2 separate regions of the Homo sapiens genome follow, and region 2 is linked to region 1. The links are contacts of gene promoters, found by promoter capture Hi-C in human tissues and cell types (Jung and others, 2019). All regions are on one chromosome and are shown on one strand. Each heading gives the region's core, a stretch centred on a gene start or on the middle of the fragment in contact. The rest is flanking DNA. Distances are from core to core; before and after follow the strand shown. Region 1 holds the start of P2RY2 (purinergic receptor P2Y2). Region 2 overlaps FCHSD2 (FCH and double SH3 domains 2).

What was found. Contacts are between HindIII fragments. The study calls those that stand out against the background at their distance.
Region 2: a fragment that was not itself captured here is called in contact with the fragment with the promoter of P2RY2 in region 1 in 2 of the 25 tissues and cell types used here (dorsolateral prefrontal cortex and mesenchymal stem cells).

What each region holds. Positions count from the first base shown.
Region 1 is chr11:73,216,652-73,221,514 of GRCh38, forward strand. It overlaps P2RY2 (purinergic receptor P2Y2), which reads left to right and starts at 1,630. Exons shown (of 3, transcript NM_002564.4): 1 at 1,630-1,781. LOC124902709 (a long non-coding RNA gene) reads right to left here and starts at 1,542. Exons shown (of 3, transcript XR_007062773.1): 1 at 1,376-1,542. RefSeq lists enhancers at 1,464-2,182, 2,183-2,901 and a silencer at 1,541-1,750. The HindIII fragment of the contact is 8,220 bases long and covers 1-4,863 here.
Region 2 is chr11:72,983,294-72,988,071 of GRCh38, forward strand. FCHSD2 (FCH and double SH3 domains 2) reads right to left here. Exons shown (of 20, transcript NM_014824.3): 7 at 1,769-1,823; 8 at 795-923. Among named protein-coding and RNA genes, the nearest start is that of FCHSD2, 160 kb to the right of the region's middle. RefSeq lists a silencer at 2,418-2,618. The HindIII fragment of the contact is 4,178 bases long and covers 1-4,092 here.

The sequences.
Region 1 (4,863 bases), core at 380-2,879:
AAACTCAGGCTCAGAGAGGAGTCATAGGACAGGTGAGGTAAGACTGGAATCTAAACCCAAGGCTATGGGGTTCAAGGACTAGGCCCCTTCCTCTGCTCCTCAAGCCTCACTAAGTCACCTGTGTGGTAGCTGAAACGCTGTATGTCTCAGGAATGCAGTTTCCTCAGCTGTAAAGTAAGGGAATTGGGCCAGAGCAGGGGCAGAGCCCTGGGCAGGCCACCAACCAGATTTGCCCGCTGAAGGCTAAGGTCGAGCCTGGGTCCTCAACTTGGCGTCAAAGAAACTTGTTTCTCCTGGGCTAAATGGCAGTGACAGTATAAGGTTTGAAGTTTTGGAAGAGGGGAGAGAAAGAGAGGGTTGGCTGGAGTTCCAGTGCCCAAAGGGTCTTCCCCACACTGGAACCTGAAGGCCTAGGCCCTATAACTCGGGCTATGAGGATACTTAGGTCCCTGGAAGGTGCGTGGCCCAGCTTAGACAATAGGCGCAGGAGGCTAGACAAGGGGCCTTTGTGTCTCCCAAGCAAAGGCCCCAGCAGGACTGCAGAGGCGGCTCAGCCACTATGGGCTGTGTGTCCACTCTGCTACTGCTCCTGGTGGGGCTGCAGCCAGCACCCTTCCTGGCAGCCAGGCCCAGTCAGCTGATATGGAGCCCAAGAGGGCCCAAGGCCCCGAAGGCCCGGGGCAAGTTCCTTGGCTACAGGAAGAGGCCTCCTCTGCACTTGTCCAGCCAGCGGAGCGATTGGCTCCATTTCACAGGAAAGAAGACCCTGCCAGGGAATGGAACTGGGTCAAGGTCTCCCAGAGTCAGTGCTGAAGCCAGACAGGAACCTACACTCCTGATTCCTAGACCAGAAATGAGAGAGAGGCGGGGTGCTCATTCATTCATCCATTCACACCTTCAAGGATTGAGCACCTCCCAGGACCTCTAGGACAGCAGCAGGAAGAAGGCAGACCTGGTTCCTGCCCTCGGGAGCTCACAGTCTCCGAACGGGTCAGACATGCAGCCGGTAGCCCGACCAGGGAAGGCCATTAGAGTGGGGTTGACGACAGAGAAGAGAGGTAAAGCAGCTCAAGATAAGGGGCCAGAGTGGGGAGTTCAGGGAGCTGCTGATAAGATTAAGGCAGGGAAAGTGGGGAGCACGGGAGAGGCGGGATCCTGAGTACCCTGCTTTCCTAACCACGGTAATGGAGAGAGGCACCCCCTTCCCCCACTTTCAAGCAAGGGAGGTACGTCCTTAGCCTGGGGTTCCGAGCAGGTATCTCCCAGTAGGTCCCTTCCTGGCCAGCCGGGCTGGGGCAGGGGCGGGACAGGGGTAGGGTGGCGCGGTGGCTGGGCGCAAAGGTCCCGCAGTGGGCCACGCAGGCACCGGGCTGACCTGGCAAAACTTTGGCGTCTCTGAAAACCTCTGGTAACCAGCTCCCTTCTAGCGTGAGGGAGCCGGGAGGCCTCCTTCTGGCCCGGCAGTGAGAGCGTCGCCGCCCGACCCTCCCGTTGCAGCACCGGTACAGACACGCTGACCCCGCGGCCTTGTCGCTGGGCGGCGTCCCGGAGCGGGTGGCGCGGTGTCTACCCGGGCGGGTTGAGGGCGGTGCCAGGGTCAGTCAAAAGTCCGCCCCGCCCCCTGCCTGGCCCGGCTTCGGGGTTGGGGAACAGCGCAGGGAGGTGGGTAGCCGGGCTCCCAGGCACGTGGGTCTCTGCGGCTGCGGCGGGACCCGGGCACTGGCACCCGGGAGCGGCGGCGACGGCACCCTGAGAGGAGAAGCGCAGCGCAGTGGCGAGAGGTGGGGTGGGGCGTCTGGAGGGAACAAGGCGCTGGGAGAGGCCCGGGGAAGCGGCGGGCCAGACTGGCGCAGGTGCGGACTGGGCGCGGGGCAGGGGAGGGCGCTGTGGAGCGGCTGTCGCCCCGGGGCACAGTTGCGAGCCGGCGTGTAGCGCATAACTGGACGGCTTGAACGCGCCTGTGGGTCCGTGGTTGAACTTTGTCTCCACGGGAGCGTCGGTCTCGGTGAGTGTGGACGGGCGCCCCAGTAGTGAGGCTGTGCGCGTCAGCGTACTGGGGAGGTCTGCGTGTTAGCGGGTGAGTGTGTGCGCCCCTCGGGGCGACTGGCCAAGCCTGCGGAACTTGTCTGTGTGTGCTCCGATGTGAGCGTCCCCGTGGCGTGAGGCGGTGGCCGGTGCCCAGAGACGCGAACCCCTGGAGACCCCCTACCACTGTCCTAACCCCAGGGTCACTCTGGGTGGCCACCTACCATTGGTAATGTTGAGGGGGCAGTTGCAGGGAGTGGGCGGGGGAGGAGGGAGTGGCCAGAAAGGACAGTTAAGCCTCTGTCCCCGGGCTTTTAATCTGGCAAATGGTGCGGTAGAAAGGGTCAGTCAGGAGAAAGGCGATACCCCACCCCCCAACCCGAAGGCTGCCAGTGGCCCTCTTGGGGTCCTCCAGGAGCGCAGCCCAAGGGTTGGGGACTGCTGGAGACCAGAATTGCCAGCTCGGGATTTGTGGGGTCCATGGCTGCTGTTCCTCTCAGCATGGCATCCCCAGCTTCCCAGGACCACAGCCTGATCTGCCTGGTTTGTTTTGGATCTAAGCTGAAATAATTATGAGTTTTGAGGATCTGGGTGGAGACCCAGGCAAGTTTATTACCTGTGGGTGGAAGTGGAAGGAAGAAGATTCTCTGAGCAGACAGGTCCACAAGAGAGCTCTGGAGACTCAGAGATCTATGTTCCAATCCTGTCTTGGCCACTGTGTGGCCTGGGCAAGCCGTCCTTTCTCTGAGCCTCAGTGGCCTCGTCTGTAAGAAGGGACTAATGATAAGGAATTTGAGGGCTGTTGAGGAGCTGATGAGTGTGTCATGTTCAGCACCAGTGTCCCCCCATGGGCAGGCTCACAGCTTGGGGATGGGAAGTCAGTCCCTGGAAGGAGCCTCCCAGAACCAGAATCCCAACTGTGCCCCTCCCTAGGGCACAAGCCTTCCACAGGACCAAGCCTGAACCCTGTAGCCTGGGACTTAAGGTATTTGATAACTGGGGCCTGCCAGCCTTTCCAGCCACCTCTCCCGCCTGACTCTTTACCTTGCAGCAGCTGCCTGGAGTCTCTCATTTCTTGCCCCTGGCCTGTTGCATATTCTACACTCCCTCTCTGATAAGCCCTCCTACTCTCACCTTCCTCAACTGGAGAACTACCCAGACTTGGGACCCAGCTCAGATGTCCTCTCCTCTGGAAAGCCTTCCTTGATCCCTACAGCTGGGTTGGAGCCTCTTCTAGGCCCCTACAGGCCTGGGGCTGACAGCCCTGGTCCCACCTGAACCGTCATGATCTATGTCTGTCTCCTCCTTTCCTCTTCCCAGGTCTAGGGGCTCCTGGAGGGCAGAAACTGGGTCTTATTATTTCTGTGTTGCCAGCACCCTGCACAGGGCTGAGCTGAACTGAGAGAGCAGCAGTGGCGCCCATCCCCTGTCTCTGGCACCAGCTTCTCCAGTAAAGGCCCGGCTGCAGGGGAGCTCCATGTCACTACAAAGAAGGGCAAACCAGAATCTGGTTATCAAAGTGGGTGGCACAGTTTGCCAGAACAGTGTGATCTGGGACACTGTAGGACCTAGAGTGCCCAGGCTAAAGACCTAGAGATTTTATCCTGAAGGCAATAGGGAGCCATGGAAATTTATGAGCAGAGGTGTTTCATGGTCAGAGCGGCATTTCAGAAAGCGCTCTCTGGCTGCAGGATGGAGAATGGATCAAGTATTGCCAAGTGCAGGGAGGTCAGGGCATTTGTGATGTCAACACTAGAACTGTCCCAGGAGTTGTTTGAACCCTAATTGAGCCCTTGCCCCTTGGCCAAACACTTTTCCCTGAGCCTTCAGATGCTCCTGCTGAGGAATTTGGGGACCTGCAATTGATCTCATCCCAGCTCTGTTCCCAGCTGGTTGAATGACCAGTTCCTGCCCTGCCAGGCTCTAAAAGGAGGCCAGAACAAGTAAGATCCTGCATGGGAGAGTATGTGTGTGGGGAGGCTCTGGCACAAAAGGCTTGTCGCTCTTTCTCCTCTTCTCCCTGCCTTGGGCTGTCTTGGAGTCTGGTCAGAGGGGTTGGGGATCCCAGTGGGCAACCCTCAGAAATGACTACCAAGCTTGGGCTGTGGAGTGAGGCTGTGACTCCTCTGTTTCTGTCTCCCTCCTGCCCTGGATGCATGGGGCTCTAAGGCTGTGGATCCCCCAAGGACCAGCTAAGAAGGTGTGAGGGTATCACCAGGGCCTCATGAGTGACCCCATGAGAGCTTTGACTTAATGGCTATAGTCTTTAGAGAGGCCATTGTCCCTCTCTAGGTGTCAGTTCTGCCATTTGTAAATTGAGAATGGTGATCCTTGCTTCTTTGAGAGCAGAGTTGCTACGAGGATTAAGATAGTGACCAGGGAAGAGCTTTATAAGCCTTAAACTGCAGTGCTCAGAGGAGGAATGTGACACTTGTAGACTTAAATCCATTTTGAAGACTATAAGAGAACATGGGTGCAATAGCAAGGGATTGTGCTTGTTATTGAAATTTGATTACTGAATGCCTTCCTCCCCCACCCCCTCTGCAGAGATGGCTTCACTAGTAACGATTTACAACAATCCATTTTGTCTTCCTATAGCCCTGTGAGGGAGGAATTGTATCTCCATTTTGCAGATCAGGAAATAGAGGCATGGATTGTATCCTGCCCAGGGTCACCAAGCTGAGGTGAAACCTGGGGCTCCAGTCCACCTGCCAGCTTAGCCCTCCCCATCTGAGACAGAGCCCTGTTAGGGTTAGGCCTGGTCCTCTGGCTTCCAGGCTGAGGGGAGTTTGAATTCTGCCCTGGGAACCTGTGTTTGGGGCTTTCTTGTGGCCAGAT
Region 2 (4,778 bases), core at 754-3,253, 230 kb before region 1:
AAAAAAAAAAAAAAATAAATAAAAGAAAGGTGCCAGGCATGGTAGCATGCACCTGGATCCCAGCTACTCAGGAGGATGAGGCGGGAGGATTGCTTGAGCCTGGCAGTTCAAGGCTGCAGTGAGCCGTGATCATCACTGCACTCTAGCCTGGACAACAGAGCGAGACCTTGTCTCTAAAAAATTAAAATTAAAAAAAGCTTCATAATTATCATTAGACATAGTTGTGGCCAAAATTGTAGTTAATAAAAAATTCAGGCTAAGAGATACACTATAAAAATATATTTTTAATAGAAATATTCTTTTGCATAAAACTTTTCTTATAAAAATTTTTCAAAAAATACAGATACAATCTAACAAAAATTATGCTAAAATGTCTTTCTCCGATGATTCAGAAGATACCTGAAGATTCTGCCTAGCTTCAATAATTTATTGAAACCATGACATGAGTCTCATAAAATAGCTCAGAAGTAGTTTCCCAGTTTGAGTCATTATTTTATTTCTTACATCACTCTTGTATCTTCTACATCAATAACCACTAGATAACAAATGTTTGCCGCACCTAGGGAATAATATAATCCTTTACTGTGACTTGTCTGTAAACATTTTCTTAACTAAAAATTAATTCCAAATTATCTGAAACAGATGCTATCCAAACAATAACAAGTATATTCCAATGAGATGCAACATAGCCTGGCTACTCTTTTATAGATTCAATCCCATAAACCCAACACCCAACTTAAGTTGTTTTTGTTTTCAATGAAGTAAAATTACCATAGATATGAAAGCTGTATTACCTTCATAATGTTAACTAAATCTGTTTGATAGTAGCGATCCTGATGTGCATTTGCTGCCGCTAGGGTAAGAAGATAATCATTCCTTGCGTGGGTAGCTTTGGAATTACACTCAGATCGCCGGGCTTTTAACTAAAACATAGCAAAATAAAATAATCAGTGCAAACTGATATTGTACTGCAAAACACATAGGAATCCTACTCTTAGTTTGCAATTAATGGCTCCCCAACAAGAATAAAGGTAACCACGTGCGGAAAACATTTATACGTATATAAAAATTATTCATCACTACTAAGGAATGAAACAGTGACTAGAACTGTTATACAGGGCAGGAGCATTTTCAAATATTTGCTTAACATACTTCTAAAGCTTTGTAGATAACTTAAAAATATTTTGCCCATTTATTCAAATGACTAAATAAAGGTTCTGAAATAAGTACCTTATCTTCAAAGGTATGGGTAAAATCTAGTGGAGTTAGAAAACAGTTTTTTAAAAATCAGCACTCCTAATGTGCCAGATGAACTGCATGCTAGTTTGAAGCCTGGCAGCCACAGCCAGGTCTCTAAGCTTACTTAATCAGGCATTCCACAGTGTGAAGTTTCCGAAGGAAAAACTCACTCACATCTGGCCCAGAATATCACTCAGGGGTCTAAATCTAAACGAAATAGATTTTGTAGAGCTTTCCAAAGCCCCCGGATTAAGTCTCTTGGACTAAGAGCTAAAGACAACAGGCTGCCTAAGCAGGTAAGGTCCAGAAACTTATCCCTAATGCAGTCTTGAGAAGCAAGTGTGTCCAAGGTGTTGACAGCTGGGTGCAAAACCCCCATGAACTGGGAGGGAAAGTTCCTCCCTGAGTCAGTGACTTTAAAATGCTTCTCTAAGGTAGAAATAATCCACCTCCACCCTCAAAGATCCAATTCTCTGTTTTACAAGCTAAGAGGTTTCTCAGTTGTGAAATACACTTATTGAAAACTTACCTTTACACTTGCCTTCTGTAAACTGATTCTTGATTGAAAAAGACTAAGTTTAGATCTATAATAAAAATAGAAAAGTATGTTTAATAAAATCATCTAATTATATCACAATAAAATTACTAAATATATTATTAAAATTTAAAAATAATCTTTTTTGAAGATACTGCTCTAAAAAAGAATGAAAAAATGGAAAACCAAGAGTAATGATTATTTTCCTTTATTTTACTACAGGAAGAATTTATTATCATGGTAAAACAGGAAATACTGGGATTAATATAAGACAAATATCCAGAATGACCAAAAAAAAAAAAAAAAAAACTTGACCAAAAAAAAATCAAAATATATTGGTGTCTCCTAATAAACAAGAGCCATCAAATTATAGACTATTCTCAGTACCATACAACTTCATACACTTTAGTTCCTGCAAAGGTTAGAGAGACCCAGGGACAATCAACCTATGGAGGCAAGCGTCAGCAAACTTTCAGGGCTGTGTGTGAAAGACTCTAACAATAGGCTCTATGAAGTCCTTACTTCTATTATTTCCACCATTAAAAGTACTTCTTGTTTGGGTACCTGCCTGTGTGCCTCCTCTGCTCTAAGGGGGTATTCTGAACTTACTGAGAAAGTCCTGGGACTCTGCCCTGTATGATGTAATCTTCTCCCACTCTTGGGTTCTTATTTCCCTTGATCCTTTTTCAGTTTGGGAGAGTAACCATAATCTAACAATAGGTAGTACAAACATGTTGATTTTACCCAAACAGCTGCAGATAACCATATGGAGAAAGTCAACAGACAAATGCTAGGGAACAAGCAACACTCCCAGGACCAGTGATTTTTTTTTTAAAGCTGCAATGTTTGTCCTGACTTCAGTGTCAGGGTGATTTCCATGAGAGAATTCAATACATGTGTTGGCAGCTGTGCCTCATGAAGTAAAGTTGCTGGCCAGTTTGGGACTGGATGATGGAGCAGTTAGTCTTTGCAAAGCCAGTGTGAAGAGGATAGGAAAAGCAGCCTCTTATTTTTCTAACAAGAGAAAACATTCAGGGATGAACACATATGCAGCCCAACTACTTCCCCATTGTTAAAAAAATTGGGTTTAAAAGATTCCTGTTATTTTTTACCTTGTCATAGTCATATTTCATAATTACTTTATTTTATTTATTTATTTAGAGACGGAGTCTCGCTCTGTTGCCCAGGTCGGAGTGCAGTGGCGTGATCTCTGCTCACTGCAACCTCTGCCTCCTGGGTTCATGCCATTCTCCTGCCTCAGCCTCCCGAGTAGCTGGGACTACAGGCGCCTGCCACCACGCCCAGCTAATTTTTTGTATTTTTAGTAGAGACGGGGTTTCACCATGTTAGCCAGGATGGTCTCAATCTCCTGACCTTGTAATCCACCCGCCTCGGCCTCCCAAAGTGCTGGGATTACAGGCGTGAGCCACCGTGCCCGGCCCCAATTATTTTACTTTTATTAATCATATTCCTGTTTATTTTATCTAGAAAAGTAAAGGCCACAAACTCAAATCTCTAAGAAAGCCTTTTCAGAATAAGACTGTGTTTGGGGATATTCCCAGTTCTCCTTTTTTTACAGTCATTACCCAAATAGGCTGAGTTGCATGTAGATCTTCCAATATAAGGTTTTAAATTTCTGGCTTCTGCTTTATTTCCTAATCCTAATATACTTCTTGTGTAGTATTAAGGTAGGTATTAGTGATAGATAGAATAAAATAGTACCTGTTCTCAAACATTTCAATCTAGAAAAAATAAGGCAGGATTTTTACACCCAAACACTACACAAATAATGAACTATACCGCGTGCTACTCTTTACCACCTACCCTTCAAAATTAATGTTCCTTGGGGTTCCAAACTCAACTTCTCATCTATTCTATATACTATGTAACTACCATCTGATAGGCAACTGACCCTCAAAGCGAGATCTTGAGGCCCAAATTCTCATTTAAGTGCCAGATATTTGACTACCTTCCAAACATATTCACCCCAGTGTTTCCCAGGCTCTTCAGAATAAACATATCCAAAATGAAATTCATCATCTCCTTCAAATTGTATCCCTCTTCCTTCTATGGTCTCTCCTAATGTGTGCATCTCCACACCATCTATCAAATCATCTATAAAAACTATAGGTAGTACAGTTTAACTTCCCCTTCCTGATCTTCCTCCTTATCTCTACTTAGAAAATTTATACTCATTCCTCAAGATTCTATCCAAACATCACTTCTTCTATAAAGCTTTCATTTATCATTAGGCAAAATTAACCTCTATATTTTCTAGGCTTTCCTAAAAGTGTTTTCACATTACTACTGCAAGTAAGTTATTAGTTAATATTAAGTGACTTTAGGCACTTGATTTCTTTGAGTTTCTAATTCTAGGCCTTAAATTCCTTGAGGGCACAAAGCTTACCTTACTCATCTCTGTACTCACCATATCCAATATAAAGTATTCAACAAACTGCGAATAAATGAAGATAAAGTGGCATTCCTTACTCTATAGTTGAAAAGTTAATATTAATATGTCTAGCTTGCTGTATCCCCTCTGAATTTGGGTCATGTTAGAAGGCAATTCCTTGTGATCAGCTCTGTGAATCAGACCCTATCAAATCCCCACTTCTCAGAAACGCCCCTCCACTGTGCTCATGTTCATCCTGTGGGCTGTGGCTAAATTATTTGTTTATACATGCTTTACAAATCTGTCAATTCTCTGTTCTAGGATCTCTGAAAGTTTAAGAAAACAAGTTTCTAAAAACGACTATGACAGTATATTCCCAATGGACATCTAATCTAAAAACTTCAGGTCTTATTGAGAAGATGGGTTCACTGACTCTATAAAAGTACAGGAAATATTTGTAGGTTCAAACAATAAAACAATAAATACAATAAAACAAATTAGAGAAATATTAAATGTGTTTTCCTGTAACATCAAGTCCTTCATGAATACTCACTTACCAGCCCTTGATAAACCGCGGAGCCCCTGAATTTTCACAAGTTGCTTATAAGGTTG